2 separate regions of the Homo sapiens genome follow, and region 2 is linked to region 1. Evidence: promoter capture Hi-C in 16 types of primary human blood cells and fetal thymus (Javierre and others, 2016). All regions are on one chromosome and are shown on one strand. Each heading gives the region's core, a stretch centred on a gene start or on the middle of the fragment in contact. The rest is flanking DNA. Distances are from core to core; before and after follow the strand shown.

Evidence for each region. Contacts are between HindIII fragments. The CHiCAGO score rates a contact against its expected background, and 5 or more counts as called.
Region 2: a contact is called between a fragment that was not itself captured here and the fragment with the promoter of DYNC1LI1 in region 1, in 1 of 17 cell types (neutrophils). The highest score is 5.3, in neutrophils.

What each region holds. Positions count from the first base shown.
Region 1 is chr3:32,567,344-32,574,231 of GRCh38, forward strand. DYNC1LI1 (dynein cytoplasmic 1 light intermediate chain 1) reads right to left here and starts at 3,515. Exons shown (of 13, transcript NM_016141.4): 1 at 3,282-3,515; 2 at 3,003-3,076. The coding sequence starts at 3,427. RefSeq lists an enhancer at 2,723-3,508 and silencers at 2,783-3,272, 3,453-3,712. The HindIII fragment of the contact is 15,701 bases long and covers 1-6,693 here.
Region 2 is chr3:32,371,007-32,377,894 of GRCh38, forward strand. LOC124909361 (a long non-coding RNA gene) reads left to right here and starts at 352. Exons shown (of 2, transcript XR_007095859.1): 1 at 352-6,888. The HindIII fragment of the contact is 4,274 bases long and covers 1,640-5,913 here.

The DNA.
Region 1 (6,888 bases), core at 2,265-4,764:
ACACGTTACTACACATACATGACCCTTTACTCCCATCAGGTTGTAGGAGGAGAGAGAATGTGGCAAGCTAAACTGCAATTTGTGTGTGTTGTGAGGGGAGTACTTAGGGCTATATCATTGTTCCTATTCTAGGTTGTTTCTGAAATGTAAAGCCTTGTCATAGGCTCAGATTTGGTTTTTTATTTTATTTATTATTATTATTATTATTATTTTGAGACAGGGTCTCACTCTGTTGCCCAGGCTGGAGTGCAATGGCGTAATCTCAGCTCACTGCAACTTCTGCCTCCAGGGCTCAAGTTGTCCCTCCACCTTAGCCTCCTGAGTAGCTGAGACTACAGGCATGCACCATCATACCCGGCCTTTTTTTTTTTTTTTTTTGAGACAGAGTCTCGCTCTGTCACCCAGGCTGGAGTGCAGTGGCACGATCTTGGCTCACTGCAACCTCCGCCTCCCGGGCTCAAGCAATTCTCCTGCCTCAGCCTCCCGAGTAACTGGGATTACAGGTGTGTGCCACCATGCCCAGCTAATTTTTGTATTTGTAGTAGAGATGGGGTTTCACCATATTGACCAGGCTGGTCTCTAACTCCTAACTTCAGGTGATCCGCTCACCTAGGCCTCCTAAAGTCTGGGATTACAGGCAGGAGCTGCCGTGCCAGGCCAATTTTTTTATTTTTTGTAGACATGGGGTTTCACCATACTACCCAGGCTGGTCTCCAACTCCTGAGCTCAAACGATCCACCCCTCGGCCTCCCAAAATGCTGGGATTACAGGCGTGGGCCACTGTGCCTGGCCTTAGATTTGTTTTTTTAAATAAGAGACTCCAGAGACCACTTGCATTCATGAAAGATGTATTAGGGTCAAGCATCCTCCTGCCTAGCACCTTCAAACTCATAACAAAGAAAACCACAATCCCTATTTGGTATTTCTTTCCTCCACCAGCACAGAGTGAATGCTGCCATATGTGACGGTGAAATGTCTGTAAGAAATCTTCAGGGGTATTTTAGAAAGTTAACTCTATTTTTGTAACCAGTATACAAATCAGTTATTAGCTCCTTCCAAAGCTGAAAAGGACTCTCTGATGAAAATCCCAATAGTACTGAAAGAAAAATATTAAATTTCAAGCTCATATTACCTGATATTAGATGCACTTTATGAACTATTAAGTTCATAAAAAAGGAAATTTAATCTATTCTTGTATGGTGGAGTGAAGGAGGCTGGGACCTCTAAGAACACTCAGTCCCATGCACAGACCCAGTGTCAAAGGGGTGTTAAAAAAAAAATGGCACAACCTCAGTGCAAATTAGGTATACCAAAAAATGAACAAAACTGCCACTTTTGTTTTACCATAAACAGAATCATCTACACAATATCTAATGTGCAGAAATAACTGGACAAAATGTATAAAATAAGAACAAAACTACTGAATCTTACCTTTACCATGACAGTGTTTCCAAATATTTAATTAAAATAGAATCAATTTCAATGAGGTCATATGAGCTTAAATCCATTTTACCTTAGAAATGAGTAGTAATTTGTTTAAATTAGTAAACTAAAAATATATTATACAATTTTTTTTTGCTTTTGGATCCTAATTTATTTTTGCCCTATGAATATCACTTATGTAGGCACTAATTCAATTTTTTAAAAAGTTCTGATCACAAATATTTTCTAATGCAGTTTAAGATAAATCCATGACAAAGTATCACTTGCAAATATTACCACGATACAAACATTAACTCATTTGATTCCCGCCACAACCCTAGAGGCAAGTATTATTATTTCTATAACAACCATTTTAAAGATGAAGAAACTGAGGTTTATAGATGTCAAGCAACTTGCTTAAGATCCTAGGGCTTATATGTGATAGGGCAGTGACTCAATCCAGGCTAATCTTCAGTAGGTGCTTTCAACCACATTAAAAACAAGGGTAAAAACTAATTTTTCAACTAGCTCCATGTAGCTTTAAAGAATATCAATAATCATATATTCTTGCTTGGCAGCAGTCTATTAAAAAAGTAATTTTTTCTATGTAAACATTCATATTTAACCACGCAGCCTATCAAGTAGTATTTGACTTCTTGTTTCCTGTTTTTAGATGGATATAACCAAAACAACAACAACAACAACAAAAAACTCTGGTATTGAGCCGACACCAAATACCAAAGTTTTTAAATTTAATCATCGTATAAGCCAAACTTCAGTTATCTCGCATGTAAAGAGCTATATAGAGAAATTTCTCCTATAAATGATTCAGGAGCTAAGCCTAGAAAAATGCGAATCTGCGAACTATTCTCCCTCAGTCCTCTATCCCCACCCCCAGAGTCACTAAAGAAACAGAATACACAACTTCCAGAGAGCCGAGGAGATACAGAACAATCAGGAGAACTGACACTGGACCGTTTCTCCTTATTACATCCATTTGGCTGAAAAGACTTAACTAGAAAGTTGTGTTCTACTGCCCTTTACAAATTTCAGAATTATATGTGACAGTTAAGGTAGCTGCAACACGAGCACATTGTACCAGAGAACGCTGAATCAAGAACATTTATCGCCAGGTCTTAGTTCTAGCTTCTGTCAATTATACAAAGAGTCAGCTATTAAATATTAATGGCATGCCATTTGCGCTGCAGCTCTCGCAAAGAGCCTCCTGCTACCAATTTTTGTGATGAAAGAAAACCTGTCATTTTCTAGATAAACCCCAGGCCACGAGAATCCCTCAGATGAGCGATCGAATTCTGTCCTTCCCAGGGGAAGCTGTCAGGGCCACCCCCATATACCGGGGAGGAGGAGGAGGAACCTGAGGGAGGGCGGGTCCCCGCAGGTCCTGGGTCAAGGGTCTCGTGTTCCCCTTCTCTCCCAGCCATCCGCGACAGGTCGGGAGGCGAGGCGGGGCGGGGCTGGGCCGGCTGTCCGCACAAAGAGAGCCAGCGAGCTAGCCCGCGGACCAGGTACCCCGGGCCGCTGGGGGCCGGGCGGGGCGGGGCGAGGCAGGGAACACTTACCCAGCAGTAGCACGTTCTTCCCCGCAGGGAGCTTGGAGCGCGAGCGGGTGGAGACCTCGCTGAGGATGCAGGACCTAACGGGAAGCAAGGCGTACGGTGAGGCCGGAGGCCGGAGCCGCAGCGCGGGAGGGACGGACCCGGCCTCGGCGCGCCGGGGATGGGGCTGCCGGGAACGCAGTGGCCGGGCCCGGCGCCGAGCTCCAGCGGGCACGGGATCCCGAGGCGTCCGCGCAAGGCCGGGGGAGCCAGCGGGGGCTGAGGGAGAGGTGGAGTCGTTACCAAAGGTTCTGCCCGTCCTCGTCGTCGCCTGCCGCGGCGCCACCGTTGCCCGACGCTATCTCGTTGCCCAAGGGGCCGCCAGTGTAAGTCGAGGATAATCCCGGCGGAGAAGAACCGAAGGAGCCGACTCGCCCCACGGCCGCCATCTTGGTCGGGAATCACACCACTCCCGGCAAGACTAAATGTGCGAGGCGGCTGAGGCGGTGGCGGTGGAGGCGGCGGGAACCCGGATATGGGGCGTTCAGCGCACGGGAGCGGGGCGGGGCCTGCGGGGGCGGGGCCCCGGGCCGGGCCAGGACTGATGGAGCGAGCGAGAACGGACTGCGCGTGCGTGGCTGCCTGGCCGGCGCTGAGGGGCTGAGCGTACGCGGGCGGCGGGGTGGGCCGCTATGCTGCAACTGAAGCCCAGTGATCTGACAGTATGGAAGTGCTTTCCTTCCGCTCATCCGCGGCCCTGGGCTGCGGCAGGGGGGTTGGGTGTGTCAGGTGAAAAGTGCTCCCTCCCACCCTTCAGACAGGTCCCCAAACCCTGCGGCCTGCGCGGAATTCCTGCATTGTCATTGCCGGCCCACCCACTGTTCAGGCTGAGAGCGGTCCCCCGCCCAAACCGGCGCTTCGCCGGCGCCAAGATAGAAATGGGTCGCCCGGCTGGTAAAGAGGCTGCCCTGCAACCCTGGGCTGGAGTATTGCTGTGGTCCTGGATTTCTGGACTTTATTTGCGTTCTCAAGTGGCGAAGTGTTCCTCAACCTGGACCCACATCAGAAGCAGGTTCTCCGAGCCCCTAAGCAGCGGCGTGACAAAGTAATTGTTTACCCTGGAAATAGACTGTTATTTTTTAAAAATTATTGTCAGGGCTTGCTTTAATGTTCTTAATGTTTTTGTATGAGATCCTCCATGTGAGATTTGAAAAGATCCACTATGCGGGTCATCTAACCGGTCACTAGACATTGATTCCACACTTACTACGTCGAGCACAGTTGACACTGGGAATACATGGATGGACTTATACTAGCCCTAAAATAACTCCTTTTCTATTAGAACTTTACTAGGTAAAGGTATTTGAATGTCTGAACTCCATGTTTAGAAGGAGTCATTGGTTTTAAGGCTCTGTCCTAGTACACCTGTAAGAGCATTTGCTTAAAATTGCCTGGCCTTTGTATGTTATCTCTGTCACTTCATATTTGAAAATCACTTGCTAGAATATGGCCTGATCAATGCTGTTATGCTAGTGAGAAAATCCACAACTAAAGACTATTTGCTATATATTAGCATTACGGTTAGAAGTCTGGAAGCCTTTGGAGGCTGGCAAATCTGAGTTCAGGTCTAGCTCTTCGAGTTTACTGGCTGTGTAACCTTAGGCAATTTACTTAACCTCCGTGAGTCTCAGTTTCCTTATCTGTCAAATGAGGATAAAAGAACTTAGAGTTGTTATTGAGATTAAACGGGATGATTCATGTAAAATGGCTTAGAATAACGACTGGCAAATCTTAAGCGCTTACCACATGTTAATTGTTATCAATGACTTTCTTTACCTTTCACACCATTAATATCTGACCAACCTCTAGAAGTGATGGGCCTAAAGAACTCTTGGAGCTAAAATTCTTTGTCACCTGTAATGCCAGCGCTTTGGGAGGCCAAGGCAGGCAGATTGCTTAAGCCCAGGAGTTCTTGACCAGCCTGGGCAACATGGCGAAACCCCGGCTCTACAAAAAATTAGCCAAGCGTGGTGGTGTGTGCCTATAGTCCCAGCTATTTAGGAGGCTGAGGTGGGAGGATCACCTGAGTCCAGGAGGTCGAGGCTGCAGTGAACTGTGATCATGCCACTGCAATCCAGCCTGGATGACAGAGCAAGACCCTGTCACTAAATAAATAAATAAATAAATAAAATAAAACTTTTGATTTTGTTGTTTATATACTTAAGAAAGGAACCAGAACCCTCCCCAGTAGTCCTACACTTTCTGTGGCACAAAGCAGGATGGAGACCCCCAGGAGAAGCTGAGTCTTTATGTTACTGTTCTAAAGGAGAGCTGTATACTGCTCTTGGCCCCTCTGAAAGCCATTTTACTCTGTACTTTATTCTTTCAGTCATCTTCCTCAGAGCATTTTCCCCTCAATTTTGTTGTCAGTTCCATATCATATTTGCTTAGTCTGAGAAGTGTTTACTTTTATAATAGTGTCAGGCTTCAACACCTCATGACTTCCAGATGCTCAACTACCCACCTAAATTGAGGTCAAAGTTGTATTCCTTGTGGTTTTATAATATCCCTATCCAGCATTCTTCCATTAAGGTGGCTGACAAAAGTGGTCATTTATGAATGCCTACTATGTGCCAGGCACTCTGTGTGTTGTATTTGCAATCCTCATACTTTGTAAGGGTCAGCAAAATTAAGTAACCTACCCCAGGTCACACAGATCAGAAGTTTATAGATAAGCTGAGATTTTTTACTGTCTAGTCTGTAAAATGACCTAGGCCAAACCATGTTAAAATAAATGTCCTCGTAATTTTAGATGCTATTCTGGTAAATACCTTCTGTGAAAACCTCTACATTACAAAAATAGGGAAGCTATATATTATGAGGAAGTCTATAAAAGGAAATAATTCATCAGTCCCTTGGAATTTTTGTTGCATAAATGCTGTTTTATAATTGACCTGTTTTCTATACTATGATTGCTTTTTCTTTATTGCCCAATGTTTTCTTACATCTAAAATTAATAACCATCTTGTTTTTCTTTTTTCTTTTTTTTTTTTTTTTTTTTGAGACGGAGTCTTGCTCCATCGCCTAGGCTGGAGTGCATTGGTGCGATCTCGGCTCACTGCAACCTCCGCCTTCTGGGTTCAAGCAATTCTCCTGTCTCAGCCTCCCGAGTAGCTGGGACTACAGGTGCCTGCCAACACACCTGGCTAATTTTTGTATTTTTAGTAGAAACGGCGTTTCACCTTGTTGGTCAGCCTAGTCTCAAACTCCTGACCTCAGGTGATCCACCCGCCTTGGCCTCCCAAAGTGCTGGGATTACAGGCGTGAGCCACTGCGCCCGGCCAACCATCTTCTTTTTCATTTGCTTAGATTTCCATGTCTTTAATTCAGTTTCAAATTCCCGTCCCAGCTGTGTAAAACTCCTTGTTAGGTATTTTAACAATTTTACCTTCTTAAAGACACCTTTAAGAACCTTCTAGCCTGCTCCATTCTGAGTTGGTTATTCTGAAACTGAATACACAGCTGTCATCCTGTGATCTTTCACCATTGTTCAGAAGATTCCCTTTGCCTCAATCTTGTGTCTTCTTGTTTTAGTGGAGAACTTCCCCCAATAGTTTTCTGATAAAAAGGCTCACTGGTAAGTCTTTGGACACCAGTGTATCCAGTCAAGGTCAACCAGAGGAAAAATGGCATTCTTAAGGGGGTGCTAGAGGAAAGCTTAATAAAGGGACTGTTTACAAAGGTGTGAACAGTGTGAAGAGATAGGACTAGCAACAGCAGGAAGCCTTAGGCTTGAAAGGGATAGAGGAAGGAATGTTTACTAGAATCCAGAGAGAGATGCAGCTTATAGGAAAGTGTTGCCCACCAAGATTTATAGTCTTCAGTAAAGGAACACAGTATCCATCCCTTT
Region 2 (6,888 bases), core at 2,527-5,026, 200 kb before region 1:
TGTCTCAAAAAAAAAAAAAAAAATTGCTGACCACAGTAACATGTGTGCTATCTTTTGTGAAAACTACTGGGCCAGGCCAGGCACAGTGGCTCATGCCTATAATCCCAGCACTTTGGGAGCCTGACTGAGGTGGGCAGATCACTTGAGGCCAGGAGTTCGAGATCAGCTTGGACAAGATGGCAAAACTCCATCTGTACCAAAAATACAAAAAAATAAGCCAGGCATGGTGGTGCACCCCTGTGGTCCCAGCTAATTGGAAGGCTGAGATAGGAGGATCCCTTGGACCTGGGAGGAGGAGGCTGCAGCTAGCCGTGATCATGCCACTGCACTCCAGCTTGAGCAACAGAGTGGGGCCCTGTCTCAAAAAAAAAAAAAAAACTAATAATAAGACACTGCTGGACCAAAAGGTTTCAATATTCCAAATCTCCAGTGCAAAAATATTATAACATCATTATTAGATATTATCAGTTAAGGAGAAGAACTCACATCAGCAAGACAGTATGAACTTAGAGGAAGTGTTTTTAGATAGGACGATTCTTGCTAGTACAGCAGTGTATCTTGGATGATTTTTCAATATGAGCTTTTGAAAAACAAAAAACCACAGAAACGTTAGTGTAGTTGATGAGCGTGAACAAAGCTGAAGCTGTGCGCTCTGTTGATATGACTCCCATGGCCTCTGCCTCTTGATCTCTCACCTGTTTAGCAGTGCTGTTTTTTTCTGTTTGTGCTGGTTCTCTTTTTCTAATTCCATATCCAAGCTCTGATTACCCCTACATAGGAGAGTTGAGATTTCTTCAGTGTCTAGTCATACCCACCCCAGACCTTTGAAAGTACCAATGAAGAATGTTCTGGGGTTGTGGACTAGGCCCGCCCAAAGAGGTAGTGGGGAAGGAAGCTCCAAAAATGAGAGGTGAGTGTAGGGTATGGATGTGTGAGCAGGTGGTGTCGGGGGGCACACAAGGCCACTCTGTGCCCAAAATGTAGCAAGCCATGGAAGGCTGAACTTCCATAACACAGACCTGTAGGCAACTGGTGATGTGATCTTTGGGGAGCTGATTCCCAGTCATCACTGATTTTGCAGAAAAGCTGAAATAACTAGTCACAGTTGGCATGCTCTGCCCTTCCGTCCAGCTCTCCCTCTCACACTCACCAAAGCATGTGCACCTTCCACATACCCTGTGGGTTTTTCAAGTACTTTATGTTGCAAACAACACTCCATAAAAGTCAGAAAAAACAGTAACCTACAGAGGCCTGCTTCTGGAAACAGAAAGAAGCCTGCTTTTATGCTCCACGCAAGCATGTGTGTGTCATTTCTATAATCACGGCCACATTTATAGAACGTAACTTCTGGGGTGAAAAGTGCCGTAAACCACACTCTGAAATGTCCTTCAAGTAGACTGTAATTTTAGTTCTTTCTTGAACTGGTAGCACCAAAGGCATCTGTTTCAAAAGAGCAATGCCTAGTTTGTGTCCATGCAGGGGCACTTGCTGTCTTGTCTTTATTGGTGTTTCTTCAGAAGCATGATCCTTTATGTTACCCTGAGAGTTCACTAAAACAATAACAGCAAAAAGCATTTATTTTTCACTGAAAAGAAATTATTATTTCATCTTTTGAATACTGAGACTTCGTTCATGAATAAGCTTTAAGTGTAGGTTTTTAGACAACAAAATGATTCTCTGTTGTTCAGATTGGAGCTGTAAGTTGTGAATTGGGTTTGCTTTAATTTTTTTCTCTTAAAAAACAAGAGAAAACAAAGCCACACACAATACAGTCAACATAAAAATAGGTTTCTGGGGGCTTGAAAAATATTATTACAGGGATAGTGTACAAGGTACTTAAACTCATCTCTGCCATCTGCGCTTGCCATCTGCATTCACCTCTCAGCCATTCCAAAACCTTCACGTCCTCTTTGGTGGAGCAGAGTGAGTTTTTAACTTGATATATTTACCCACTCATGGCAAATCAATAAAGTGCTTTAGGCAATTAATCTCTCTTTATTGCTATTTCCAACTTACTGCTCCCAAAAGATAAATATTTGGCCAACCTTTGAAAACTACAAGAAAATCTAGAGAAGAGGATGTTCGATATCAGTATTTATTTTTTATTTTTAAGTTGCTCCCTTCATAGGAAAATCCCTTCGGGGCATCAGCACACAAAAGATTATAAATACATGAAATATCTCTGTAATAGAAGGTAGACGTTTAGAAATGCTAACTGAAGATGCAGCCCTGGGTAGAAAATCAACTTAAAGTCCATATTTTTGTTTTCTAGACAATTATTATTTTGAAAAGATGAGTTTTCACAGAAAAAATTGGTTTTATTGAAATTTAATTGAAAAGATAAATTTTCACCGAAAAAAATCTGGACATATGATACATGCAAGCACATGCGCGCACACACACAAGCACACACACTCTGAAAGGTGGCAGCCTGAGCGTTTGTTAACTTGGCTGCACATTAATGTTCTGCTGGCAACATCTGCTGCCAAATGTGAATCGTAAGCAGACAGCTGTGAAGGAAGGTAAGATAACTTCCAGTGTTGATGATGACCTAGAATAATGGGGAAGATTATAATGCATGTTGTTATAAGTTGGGGGGTATATAAACTTGGGTTCTTGGTATATGTAAAAGAAGATAGGGTTTGGGAGAAAGTGCTTGGCATCACAGAGTGATGACTTTTCAGAAACTTAGGAAGGTAAGTGGGAAGAAAGGTGCTGATTAAAAAGATATTCCATCTGGAAGATATGTTTTGAGAAAACTTTCCTATCTATGGCAGAATTGTTTTTGCTAGAATATTCAGAATAGCTAAATGAACCCAGGGCATAGGGAACCTTGTGGCTGCCTCCCCAGCATCTTTTCTTCCTCCTCATATTCTCAAACTGCCCTAGTTTTTATTCAGTATCCAGACCACCCTCTTATAGCCCCAGTGTTTTGTGAGAGGCCGACTCCATTAGGACTCTAGGAATGGAGCCTACGGCTCTGCCTCAGCTCATCAGCATGAGACCACCCTCCTCCTCCACCACAGTGATTGGTTCAGAGATGGTCATGTGACCCACGGCTTGCTTGGGAGTTCTGGGAAAGAGGCATGCTGTGTACGTGTGTGTTATCTAATATACATTGACCCTTTATGCCAGGCACTGTACTAAAGGGCTTTCCATCTATTATCTCATTTAACTCTCAGAAGGGGAACCCTGCGCAGTAGATACTAGATTATCCTCACTTTACAGAGGAGGAAACTGAGGTACAAAGAGGTTAAGCAATTTTATAAAATGTTATAAAAGTCATCTAGCTAGCAAGTGTGGAGAGCAAGCATATTAACTGCTGGTGTTAATGTATTATGTATTTAAAGCACCTGGCACACAATTGGTGCTCAATAAATGATTTCCCTTCTTTTTTTAATGTTTTAATTGACAATAATTGCATGTATTTTGTGGTTATAATGTTATGTGGCTTTGGGGGGTTTTCTTACTTTTTATTTATTTATTTATATTTTTTGAGACAGGGTCTCACTCTGTTACCCAGAGTACAGTGGCACAATAATAGGCTCACTGCAGCCTCAACCTCCAGGGCTCAAGCAATCCTCTCACCTCAGCCTAGCTGGGACCACTGAGACCACAGTCGTCTACTACCAACCAACCACACCTGGTTAATTTTTTATTTTTTTCATAGACATGAGGTGTCACTACATTGCCCAGGCTGGTCTCGAACTCCTGAGCTTAAACGATCTTTGTGCCTCAGCCTCCCAAAGTGCTGGGATTACAGGCATGAGCTGTGCCTGGCCACAATGTGATGTTTTGATTTTTGTATACATTGTGGAATTATTAAATCCGTGCTTACTCTTTTTTTTCTTCTTCTTCTTCTTCTTCTTTTGAGACAGGGTCTCACTCTGTCACCCAGGCTGGAGTTGCAGTGGCAGAATCACGGCTCATTGAAGCCTAGACTTCCCGGGACTCAGATGATCCTCCCACCTCAGCTTCCCGACTAGCTGGGGCTACAGGCATGTGTCACCACGCCTGGCTAATTTTGTATTTTCTGTAGAAACAGGGTTTCGCTGGTCTCAACCTCTCAGGCTCAAGCGATCCACCTGCCTCTGCCTCCCAAAGCGCTAGGATTACAGATGAGAGCCACTGCCCCTGGCCTGCAGCTCTTTTGATGGAACTCTTAGAAGCAACAGTCCTCTCCTTGGGTGAGAAAATATGTAGCCAGGAAGTCGTTTGTAAAAATTTTGTGACCACAAGGGGGAGCCAGTCATAGGCTAACAGTAACGAAGAGTTAAGAGGTGGAAAGAAACTTCATCAATGATAACATCATTGAACCATTGAATCAATTCAGCCCTGAATGCTACCAAGCTCTGACTTTGCAATTACATGAGCAATTCTGCCCACTTAAACTAATTTCCATTACTTGCAACAACAGGCATCATAACCATTACTCAGGACATCCTGGCAAACACCTTTCAAGCAAGTCACCACAAGGGCCTGTATAGACGGTAGTGATGATGAGAGGAGCCAACTTTAGCACCAATGCTATTTAGCAGTAGAAGGGTAGAAAAAGGGAAATTTTGAAAGCCCATTTGACAGTGACTCGGGCCTTCCTAAAGTTATTGCTGAAGGTGGCAATAGCGTGGGAAAATCCTAGAAAAAGAAAGAGCTGGGAGGATGGGTACTCAAAGGAGTACCGCATGACCTATCTTTGGCCATTGCAATAGGAAAGCTGAGTGTGGAGGAGGAACATGAACCATCTGGCCTCCAGCCATTTTAACTTAGGAGAATTCCACCGTGTTGTCGTAAAGGCAAATAGTCACTGGAGAGGTGGCTTCTCTCTCTCTAGGTAAGTTGAGCATTAAGTGCCAAAGAACGTTGAGAATGAGGACTAGACCTAAACTCTTGGCATTTAGGAAAAAGAACTTAGATATCACATATGGTGCAATTAAATCCACAATGAGATACTACTTCACACCCTCTAGAAGGGGTAAATTAAAAAAAAAAAATACCAGGTGTTGGCGAGGTTATGCAGCATCTGGAATTTTTATACACCGCTGGTGGGAGTGTAAAATGGTATAATTACTTACAAAGTTAAACAATACTTGTAACCCAGCAATTCCAGTCCTAGATATCCACCCATGAGAAATATATCCACAAAAATATTGAGCAAGAATATGCATAGCAGCTGTATTCATAGTTGCCCCAAACTGGAAACAACCCAAATGGCTATCAAATGGTGAATGAATACATTGTGTATCTCTACAATGGAATACTGCTCAGCAATAAAAGGGAACAAACTACTGATATAGGCAACAATGTGGATGAATCACCAAAACGTTATGCTGAATAAAAGAAGCCAGACCAAAAAAAATCATTTGATTCTATTTATATGAAACCCTAGAAAAGGCAAAACAAAGCTATAGTGACAGGAAGCAGATCAGTGGTTGCCTGGAAATAGGGCTGGAGCAGTTGGCTTACAAAGAGGCACACGGAGATGTTCTGAGGTGACAGGAATATTCTACATCTTGATTGTGGTGGGGATTGCATGGGTGTATACATTTGTCAAAACTCACAAACTATTCACGTAAAATGGGTGTATTTTAATATACATTATAGCTTGATAAAGTTGATTTTAAAAGAAAAAAAGTGGAATATTTAAAAATGTCCACTCTTGCCCTTCTCCCATCTGCCATGCTGTTGAATTGTTTATTACCTCCTATATCCCATCTGGTTTGTGATCTTTTGGAGAGTTGGGAAGGTGAGGTTTCATCCCCGTCTTCCCTCTGGAGCTCAGCACAGTGCCTGGAATGTAGTATGTGTTCAATTAAATGTCTACTGTAGTGAAAAGACTGGGAAGTTAATGAAGAGTCCTAGAACACCGTGAAGGGTGAGTTAGAAGACAATAGAGGTAAACCAATAGAGAGGGCAAGCTTAAGAGAGGTCTGTGAAATGAGAGCTGTGGGGATGGGAGACTGCCAGGAGATGCAGGAGGCTACAGCTGGGTGATGAGGCCAGCAGGGACCTGGAAGTGAAGAGCTGATGCATCTGTGTTACCCAGAAATGATTGTCAGAACAGTGCTTGATAAATAGCAGCTACCAGGTGGCTAATGAACTGGGTACCTGGGAAAACACACAACCAGTACATAGGTTTCTAGAACATAGAAATGACTGTTTATGAGCTGTGGGGCCTAATAACCTCCAACCATTTAATGATACGGTACTAGGTTTAGCCATGTGAAATGGTCACTATTAGACTCTGTCCTACAAAAATGGCAATTTCATACAATTCGACCTACAACTTTATACTTGAGTTTCACACATAATATTAGTTGATCCTCAATCTTTGCCCTGGCCGGGCGCAGTGGCTCACGTAAATCCCAGCAGTTTGGGAGGCCGAGGCGGTTGGATTACCTGAGGTCTGGAGTTCGAGACCAGCCTGGCCAACATGGTGAAACCCCATCTCTACTAAAAATACAAAAAATCAGCCGGGCATGGTGTTGGGCGCCTGTAATCCCAGCTACTCGGGAGGCTGAGGCAGAAGAATCTCTTGAACCCGGGAGGCGGAGGTTGCAGTAGGCCAAGATCGTGCCACTGCACTCCAGCCTGGGTAACACAGCAAGATTCCATCTCAAAAAAAAAAAAAAAAAATCTTTGCCTTACATTAGGCAGGTGTCCATCGCTCCATTTATCTCGTAGAGACAATGGAGGCTCCACTGAGTTGTCAATGACTTGCCCATGGTTACTCAGTTAGAATAGCTTGGGCTGGCACTGAGATTTTCTCACTCCGTCCCAACTCCTCCAGCCTAGTTTACTGAAAACATCTGGACTGTGAGGAAAGGAACCAGGTGAAAACTGCAAGGTGTGGGGATAAGGTAGTACATTTCCAGAAATCTATTTGGCATT